Regions from separate parts of the Homo sapiens genome. Here all the other regions are linked to region 3. The links are contacts of gene promoters, found by promoter capture Hi-C in blood cells and fetal thymus (Javierre and others, 2016). All regions are on one chromosome and are shown on one strand. The core of a region is centred on a gene start or on the middle of the fragment in contact, and the rest is flanking DNA. Distances in the headings are between cores, read along the strand shown.

The links. Contacts are between HindIII fragments. The CHiCAGO score rates a contact against its expected background, and 5 or more counts as called.
Region 1: a contact is called between a fragment that was not itself captured here and the fragment with the promoter of PDE6D in region 3, in 1 of 17 cell types (non-activated CD4 T cells). The highest score is 5.1, in non-activated CD4 T cells.
Region 2: a contact is called between a fragment that was not itself captured here and the fragment with the promoter of PDE6D in region 3, in 1 of 17 cell types (neutrophils). The highest score is 5.4, in neutrophils.

What each region holds. Positions count from the first base shown.
Region 1 is chr2:231,464,342-231,467,041 of GRCh38, forward strand. NCL (nucleolin) reads right to left here and starts at 143. Exons shown (of 14, transcript NM_005381.3): 1 at 1-143. The coding sequence starts at 12. RefSeq lists enhancers at 1-552, 1-87, 598-697 and a silencer at 118-467. The HindIII fragment of the contact is 4,015 bases long and covers 1-2,700 here.
Region 2 is chr2:231,510,489-231,513,188 of GRCh38, forward strand. All of the region lies in intron 2 of LINC00471 (long intergenic non-protein coding RNA 471), which reads right to left. Among named protein-coding and RNA genes, the nearest start is that of LINC00471, 2.5 kb to the right of the region's middle. The HindIII fragment of the contact is 1,232 bases long and covers 698-1,929 here.
Region 3 is chr2:231,780,004-231,782,703 of GRCh38, forward strand. It overlaps PDE6D (phosphodiesterase 6D), which reads right to left and starts at 1,279. Exons shown (of 5, transcript NM_002601.4): 1 at 1,062-1,279. The coding sequence starts at 1,111. It also overlaps a transcript of COPS7B not described here. RefSeq lists enhancers at 446-525, 1,076-1,305 and silencers at 469-692, 816-865. The HindIII fragment of the contact is 3,911 bases long and covers 139-2,700 here.

The sequences.
Region 1 (2,700 bases), core at 133-2,632, 320 kb before region 3:
GAGCTTCACCATGATGGCGGCGGAGTGTGAAGCGGACAAGTGGCGCAGATGAGTCCAGAAGAAGCCAAGCGACGGCGATGGCGGCCGCGGGTGCTGAAGATCCCGGAGCACGTACACCCGAAGGCCAGCGAGAGCTCGAGACTGAGGCGAAAGACTGAGCCTGCCCAGTAATCGCCTGTGGAAAGGCGACGACGGCGCCCTCGTGACTCCGCGCCGACCAACCAAAGCTCGCGGCCGTCCCCATGAGCCAATCGCGAGCCTCTAACCGTGAACGGCGCGGGGCGGGGAGTAGGCGGGCCGAGGCGGCCACGGGAGGGGGAGGGGCTGGCAACGGCGCCGTGGGGGCGGGGCTCGCTTTGTGCAAGGTCCGCGCTGATTGGGCCGTGGGCGCGCGGGTCCCGGCCTGCGTCGTGGGACTGGCGTTTTTGGCGCCGGCTGTGAGGGGAGCGCGGGGGTGGTGGAATCGGGCGGTCTCCGGTTCGCCAATGTGGCTGGGTCCGTAGGCTTGGGCAGCCTTGGAGTTCCTCAGAGACCCCGCGCTCGGTCCCGGCACGCACTCACGCCGCGGCTCCTGGTGGCCCTGGAGCGAGGAGTCCGCCAGCACCGGAAGTTCAGGGACCGCGGAGTTCCCGTTGGCCCTTTTGGAGGCACAGCTTATCCCTGCTTGCCCGCGAGCATGGGGCCGGAGGCACCCCCCGGCTGCAGGCAGTCTCCTGAGAGCTGTTAATAAAGGCAGTCGCGGGTCTGTGCGAGGTTTTCTGTGAGAAATGCACGAACCTCCCCTACCCCACAGAACCTCAAGCGGGAGATATTTCTCGACATGGGGAACGGCCTCGGAGAAGTAACTTTCTGGCCTCACAGGGCAGGGAGAGGGGCCTGGGAGGGCCGACCGCAGAGCCGGGCCTTTGACCGCCCACAGGTTCCCTGGTTATTATTTGGGTCGAATGCGCCAATTAAGGTGGTGGCTGCGAAGTCAGTGTCACCAGATGGCCCGGGAGCAGGTCGAGAGCCACCGGCAGGGTTCCCCGGCGGCAGGGCGAAGGAGGCCGCCAGTGACTTCCACGGTTAGCTTTGTGGGTGGGTCTCACTCGATGCCGGGCTTAGCAAACCAGAGCATTTCCCTCCGTCCAGGGCCTGCCGGGGATCCATCCCATCCATAGGTCCAGCTATGGATCCATCCATACCTCATTGTTCCTACAGAACCAGGATATCTGCAGCTACGGCTGTACTTGTTAAAAATCACCTCAGGCCGGGCGCGGTGGCTCAGATCCGCAATCCCAGCATTTTGGGAGGCCGAGGCGCATGAACCGGGGAGGCGGAGGTTGCAGTGAGCCGAGATCGCCCACTGCACTCCAGCCTGGGCGACAGAGCGAGACTCCGTCTCAGAAAGAAAAGCATTTGTTAAGGCCGGGTGCGATGGCTCATGCCTGTAATCCCAGTACTTTGGGAGGCTGATGCAGGAGGATCGCTTGAGTCCAGGAACTTGAGACCGGCCTGGGTAATATAATGCGACCCTGTCTCCACACAAAAAATAATTAGCGGGCATGGTGGCGCTCGCCTGGAGTCCCAGCTACTCGGGAGGCTGAGGTGAGAGGATCGCTTGAGCCCAGGAGGCGGAGGTTGCAGTGAGCCGAGATCGCGTCATTGAACTCCAGCCTGAGGAACAAGAGCGAAACCCCATCTCAAAAAAAAAAAAAAGAAAGAAAATAAAATTATTTGTTAAATGAATGAAGTATTTAGGTAGAAGCAGCAGCAGGGAGAGCCGGCATGGCTCAAGTGGCGTTGCTTTGGAGTTGGTCTGGGGCAGCAAAATAGCAATATCTAACACTTCATAATGCTGATTCAGTGCCAGGCGCTCTTCCAGCTCTTTACATATTAATTAACTTACTCTTCAAAATAACCTTTCCAAAAAGTTACCACTGTTTTACAGAAACTGGGACATAGAGGTAAATTAACTTGTCCAGGGTCGCATAGCTAGCAGTGGAGGCGTAGGATATAAGTGAAGACACTGCTGTGTCATCCCAGTTTCTTTTTTTTGAGACAGAATCTCACTCTGTCACCCAGGCTGGAGTGCAGTGGCAGGATCATGGCTCACTGCAGCCTTGACATCCCCAGCTATATCAATCCTCCCTCCTCAGCCTCCCAAAGGTGAGCCACCACGTCTGGCCTGTTTGTTTCTAAATGCTTTTTTGTTTTCTTTTGAAAACATGAGTATTTATTGAATTGTAAAGTATACACATAGTGCAAAATTCAAAAGATTCAAACAGATGCACAATAAAAGGTCTCCCTCCCGTTCCTGTCCCCTAGGCCTCCCAGTCTCAAGGCAGTGGCAGTCTCTTGTATATCCTTCCAGATTCAGCCGTACGTGCAAATAGACAAGTATATTTGTTATATTTAATACAAACGCTATCATATACACTGTTCTGAGCTCTTCTTTTGTGTTAACTATATGTATCTTGTAACTCATCCTACATCAGCACATGTAGAGCTGCCTCATTCTTTTTAATAGCTACATGGCATTCCTTGTGTGGAAGGATCACAATTTATCTAGTCACCATTGCTGGATAGTTAGGGTTTTTTGCTATGTTTGGCCATTACAAACTGCTATAGCAAATATTCTCACTTACGTTATTTTACACAAATCATATCTGTAGAACAGCTGGGTCAAGGGTATGGACTTTCACATTTTCATAGATGTTC
Region 2 (2,700 bases), core at 64-2,563, 270 kb before region 3:
TCTGAAGTCTAAAACATTTCCAGTCCCAAGCATTTCGAATAAGGGATACTCAACCGATACAGTACATGCTCTCTTATCTATGTCAACGTAACCAACTGGCTGGATTAAATGACTGTCTCAATTCCAAACAGGTCTTACTATAATAACTTGATGCTTATGAAATCCCAAGCATGAGTGGGCCACTCTGTGGTACTCCTACTAATGTGATGTCTCTATGCCTGTGAGCTGAACTGTATCTTTAATAAAAACCCGCTGTGTTGTTTGCTAACCTGTATTTGCAGTTTCAACTGCAAAATTAACTAAACATCACATAAACCAATACCATCAACGCAAAAAGGGTGGGGTGCAGTGGCTCACACCTATAATCCCAACACTTTGGGAGGCCGAGGCGGGCAGATCACATGAGGTGAGGAGTTCGAGACCAGATTGACCAACATGATGAAACCCCATCTCTACTAAAAATAAAAAATTAGCCGGGCGTGGTGGCACATGCCTGTAATCCCAGCTACTTGGGAGGGTGAGGCAAAAGAATTACCTGAACTCAGGAGCTGGAAGTTGCAGTGAGCCAAGACTGAGCCATTGCACTCAAGCCTGGGCAACAAAAGTGAGACTCCATCTCAAAAAATAAAATAAAATAAGTGCAAAAAGTTATTGAGTCTATGAAAACAAACTTCAGTGCTTTGGAGGTACTTGATAAAGCTTAAAAAACTGCAATCAAGTTAAGGGTGCATGAGCAACCATAAAAGAATGGGAAAAGCTGTAAAACTGTGGGAATCTGTATTCAAACTGCTTTACTTACTAGGATGTTAGAGTTTTCCTTTGCTTTAAAGAAACAAACTTTAAATTGCAGAAGATGCATTATGTGTGTATTTTATGCAGGGAAGATAAGCTACTCCAGCAGTGGACTCAAAGATAAGGCCTTGGTCCTGTATCAAAATATTGCCAAAAGAATACATAATGTCTTAAATTAAAATCAAAAGGTATGGATGGATAATTTTCATGATTTCCCTACTTTTACTTTTTAAAAAATTGTATAAAGTGTATAACTGTTTTAATATACTTATGGCAAAATGGTTACTACAGTCAAGTAAATTAACAAGTCCATCATCCCTAATAAGTGTGTGTGACAAGGGCACCCAAAACCCACTTTTACATTTGATTAATTAAAACAATTAGACTGAAGAGGGTTGAAGAAAGTTTCTATCACACAACCAGCTGCTCAAAATGGACAACAAATAAATGCTATCTGCCTCTCAGAACAAGCTGCTTAGGAGAAGACTGAGAAATGAATGGGGAAGGTATAGGGGGTTTGGATTCAGCAGACCTATGTATAACCCTGGCTGTCACTTACTAGTTCTGGAAACATGAGCAAGCTGGTTAATGGCTAAATCTGCTTTCTTGTCTAATTTTAGTATATGTGCTGCCGAAGCGAGCACACTTTCTTGTCTAAAAAATGGAGCTATATGATGCCTACCTAACCCGGTCACAGTGAGGATGAAATGAACCAATGTATAAAGCAGTGGTCCCAAACCTTTTTGGCACCAGGGACCGGTTTTGTGGATGACAATTTTTCATGCATCCGGTGGGAGGGGAGAGGGATGATTCAAGTACATTACATTGATTGTGCACTTTATTTCTGTTATTACATTGTAATATATAATGAAATACAACTCAACATAATGTAGAATCAGTGGGTGCCCTGAGCTTGTTTTCCTGCAACTAGACAGTCCCATCTGGGGGTGATGGGAGACAGTGACAAATCATCAGGCATTAGATTCTCATAAGGAGCGTACAACCTAGATTCCTCACATGCGCAGTTCACAATAGGGTCTGTGTTCCTATGAGACGCTATTGCTGCAGCTGATCTGACAGGAGGCGGAGCTCAGGCAGTAATGCAAGCAATGGGGAGGCAGCTGTAAATTCAGATGAAGCTTCCCTCACTTGCCCACCACTCACCTCCTGCTGTGCGGCCTGGTTCATAACAGGCCATAGACCAGTCTGTGGCCCAGGGCTTGGGGACCCCTGGCATAAAGCCCTTGTACAATGGCTGCACATGTGAAACATTCCATATTCATTAGCTGTGTACCCACTAACCCACCTTAATTCTTTCAGGACTCAACTTAAACCTATCTATTTTCAAATTCCAAAGGAGAGACTCTCAGAAGAACATAGTGAGGACTATGTCAAAAGAAGAAATATGAAAACATGTTTGGCAGGTACACAAAGTAATAGACTTTTTTTTTCTTTTTTATTTTTTAATTTAAAACAGCCAGGCAGGGCTGAGGGAAAGCACCGCCCTCCTGGGCCATAAATGAATGGATTTTAATGAATCAATTTAAAGAATGAAGAGATTTAAACCAGTATTACCAGAAAACCAGTATCACTTTACAAACAAAGAACACCTTGGCATTCCCAAAATAACCCACACTTGGTCACGATACATTATGATGTATTACTCTTTGCATAACATTGATATTCAATTTGCTAATATTTCTGGAATTTTTGTATCTATGCTCATTAAAGAGAGAGTGGTCTGTGATTTCTCAAAATGACCTGGTCAGGTTTTGGTATCCAGTTTAGTGTGGACTTGTAATACTAGTTGAAAAGTGTTTGCAATAGCACTTTTGAGGTTTGTGTTTTTTGTTTTTGTTTTTGTTTTTTTGCTTTGAGACCGACTCTGTCTCCCAGGCTGCAGTGCAG
Region 3 (2,700 bases), core at 29-2,528:
ACGTTCGTACTATAGATTACAGATAGGATGCATGAAGAGATTAAAGTTGGCAGGAGAATGGAAAATTTGAATATCCAAGTTTGCATTTTTTCATCTGCATCATATGGTGACAGACTAACACACTCCACGAAAACACAAAGCTTCCTTACGGAGAGGATGCAAAAGGGGCACCACAACAGGCCCGAGGCAATGATTTCTCTACCCCACTCTATCCTACCGTGGCCCCAGCGACATCACACCATTGCTGGACAGCTCCACCACAGCTAGGCATAACCGCACCGACAGGAGCGAGCAAAGACACCTCGGCTAGGAGTCCCAGCGCGAGGCACCCCACACCTAAGCCTATGGTCCTCATCTTGCTGGAAAGAAAACTGAGGCGCTGAGGGGGAAGCAGTGACCAATGCCTGAGAAGGCCAAGAGTGTTAAGACGAGGTCGATCTTGGACTTCTCTTTCCCCACCTCCCCCAACTACTCCAGTCCTGGAAGAAGCCACAAGTTTGGAAGAGAAGTTGTGGAAACCAGACGGGGGTGGGGTGCGGTGCGGTGCGGTGGGGGACCTGAGAGAGTTTTAAAAGCACTGGTATTTGTCCCACACAAGGTCGCCCGCTCCAAGTCACTGTTCCCCGCTCCCCGGGTAGGCTTATAGCCAAAGAGGCTTCTAGGCTTCGAGATCAGCCCACCGCGCCCCCTCAGCCCTTCTCCGCGGGCCGCAGCCCCATCCCGGCCTCTGGGTCCCGGCCGGGGATCGGAACCCAGCCGGCTTCTCCGACAGCGTTTCCGACGCCCGGCACCTCTCGCAGCCCCGTCCCCCAGGCTCCCCCGTCTCCACCCGCCACCCCCCGGCGCTCCCGTCAACGTCCCCTTCCTCCCTCAGGACGCCCCTTGGGGCGCCTCTCGCGCCGGGTCCCGCCGGGTGCTCGGCACGCTGTTCCTTTCCTCTCCCCTCCCGCGGCCCTTCTTCTGTGGGGCCCACCTGGCGCGGCCCCCGCCCCCGGCCAGTCTCCTCAGTGAGCGGCCGCCTCCCAAGTCCTCCCGGCCCCGCCCCGCTCCCGGACGGATACAGTTTGAAGCCCCTCAGGATCTCCCTGGCCCGCTCGTCCTTGGCTGACATGATGCGGCGGTCGCCGCCCGCGGCTTTCTCACTCTGGTCGGCGGAGCCTCGCAGACGGTGCCCAGGAGCCGAGGATGGAGCCGCAGCCCGGCTTGGAGACCTCGGGCTAGCAGCCGCAGCGGCCAGACCAGGACCGGCCTCTCTCTCCCCTCAGCTCCCGCTTCTGATCCCTTCTCCTTCCCCCTAGCCTCGCAGTGCCCTCCTGGAACCAATGGAAAGCCAGCCTTGGCGATTGGCATCTCAACCAGCCAGTAGGAGCGCGCAGCGGCTTCGCAGGGGGACTGTTAACGTCAATGGGAAGGGCCCTCCCCGGGAAGTCCCATAGGACACAATATTCATCTGGTGTTGTTGCCTAGAGTTTGTCCCAGCGGAGGGTTGGCTTCGGATCTGCAGAGGCTTTAGGGACCTGCTCCAGCCACTGAGCACACTAGCCGTCTGAGACGGCAGCTGAGTTGCACTGTGCGACGCGACAGAGACTACATTTCCCAGCATTCCAGCGGCGCACTCGGGGGACCACAGATCCCAGCGCACCACAAAGAGGCCCGGGGACTACAAATCCCAGCATCCCCTGCACTCGGTTCCTCTGTAACTTAGACTCCAGTGTGCCGCGCAGTGTGCGCAAATTCACAAACCCGCCCGCTGAGTTGGTCGTTTCGGAATCCCGAGACTTGAAACCCAACGGGAAGACCCTTCTCACCCTCAAAAGAAGATGACAGCCCGCAGAGAGTTAACTTCTGTTTACATGGAACTCAGACATCTGCAAATCATGGTAAGGCTGCAAACAACAAACAAAAACACTGATTAAACCGTGAAAGAGAACAAAATGACTTCTTCAAATCGTGCTTGTTTGTTGGTCTGAGGCGCCTTTTACATGTATTTCAGGGTTTTTTGCTGTATTCCTGGTTTGCACCGGGAGAGCTATGGATTGTATACTCAGAATATCAAAACATAAAGGGACTTTGCTAATCTATCCCCTGTTGTTACGTATGAGGAAATTGAGGCCCAGAGAGGCGAAGGGATTGGCCACAGATCACAGCAAGTTCGGGCAGAGTTAGAATTCAGCCCTAAGTCGGCTGACTTGCAGTCTGGACTCTTTGCACCACACTAAGGAGGTGATATTTTTAGCAGCATGGCAATGTGAATTATTCTCCTTGAACGGTTTTCCTATCCACTGTTGAAACACCCAGAATTAGGTAGCATTTATTTGGTGGATTTCTTGCGAGTGAGGGAGTGTGATATTTATTTATTTTCAGCCTAGGTAGGATTTGGTGTTTTGTTTTTTGCCACTCAAGGTGACATTTAATGTGATTTCAGGAAGTAGGTAAAATTACAGTGTGAGCCACGGTTTCCTTGGAAACCTCCTCTGTCCTTCTCTTGGCCTTCCTTCCTCTGCCTGTCCCCACTTTCACCCATCTGGGAACTCACCCAATTTTTTCTTCCATGTAATTCAACAAATATCTTTTCAGCCTGTTATTTGTCAGGCACTGAGTGGGTAAAAGGTGAAGGACATGGTCACTGCCACCAGGAAGATGAACATATATTTAGGGAAATAAGGAGACTCCACTGAGATTCAAGATGGAGTGTGATAA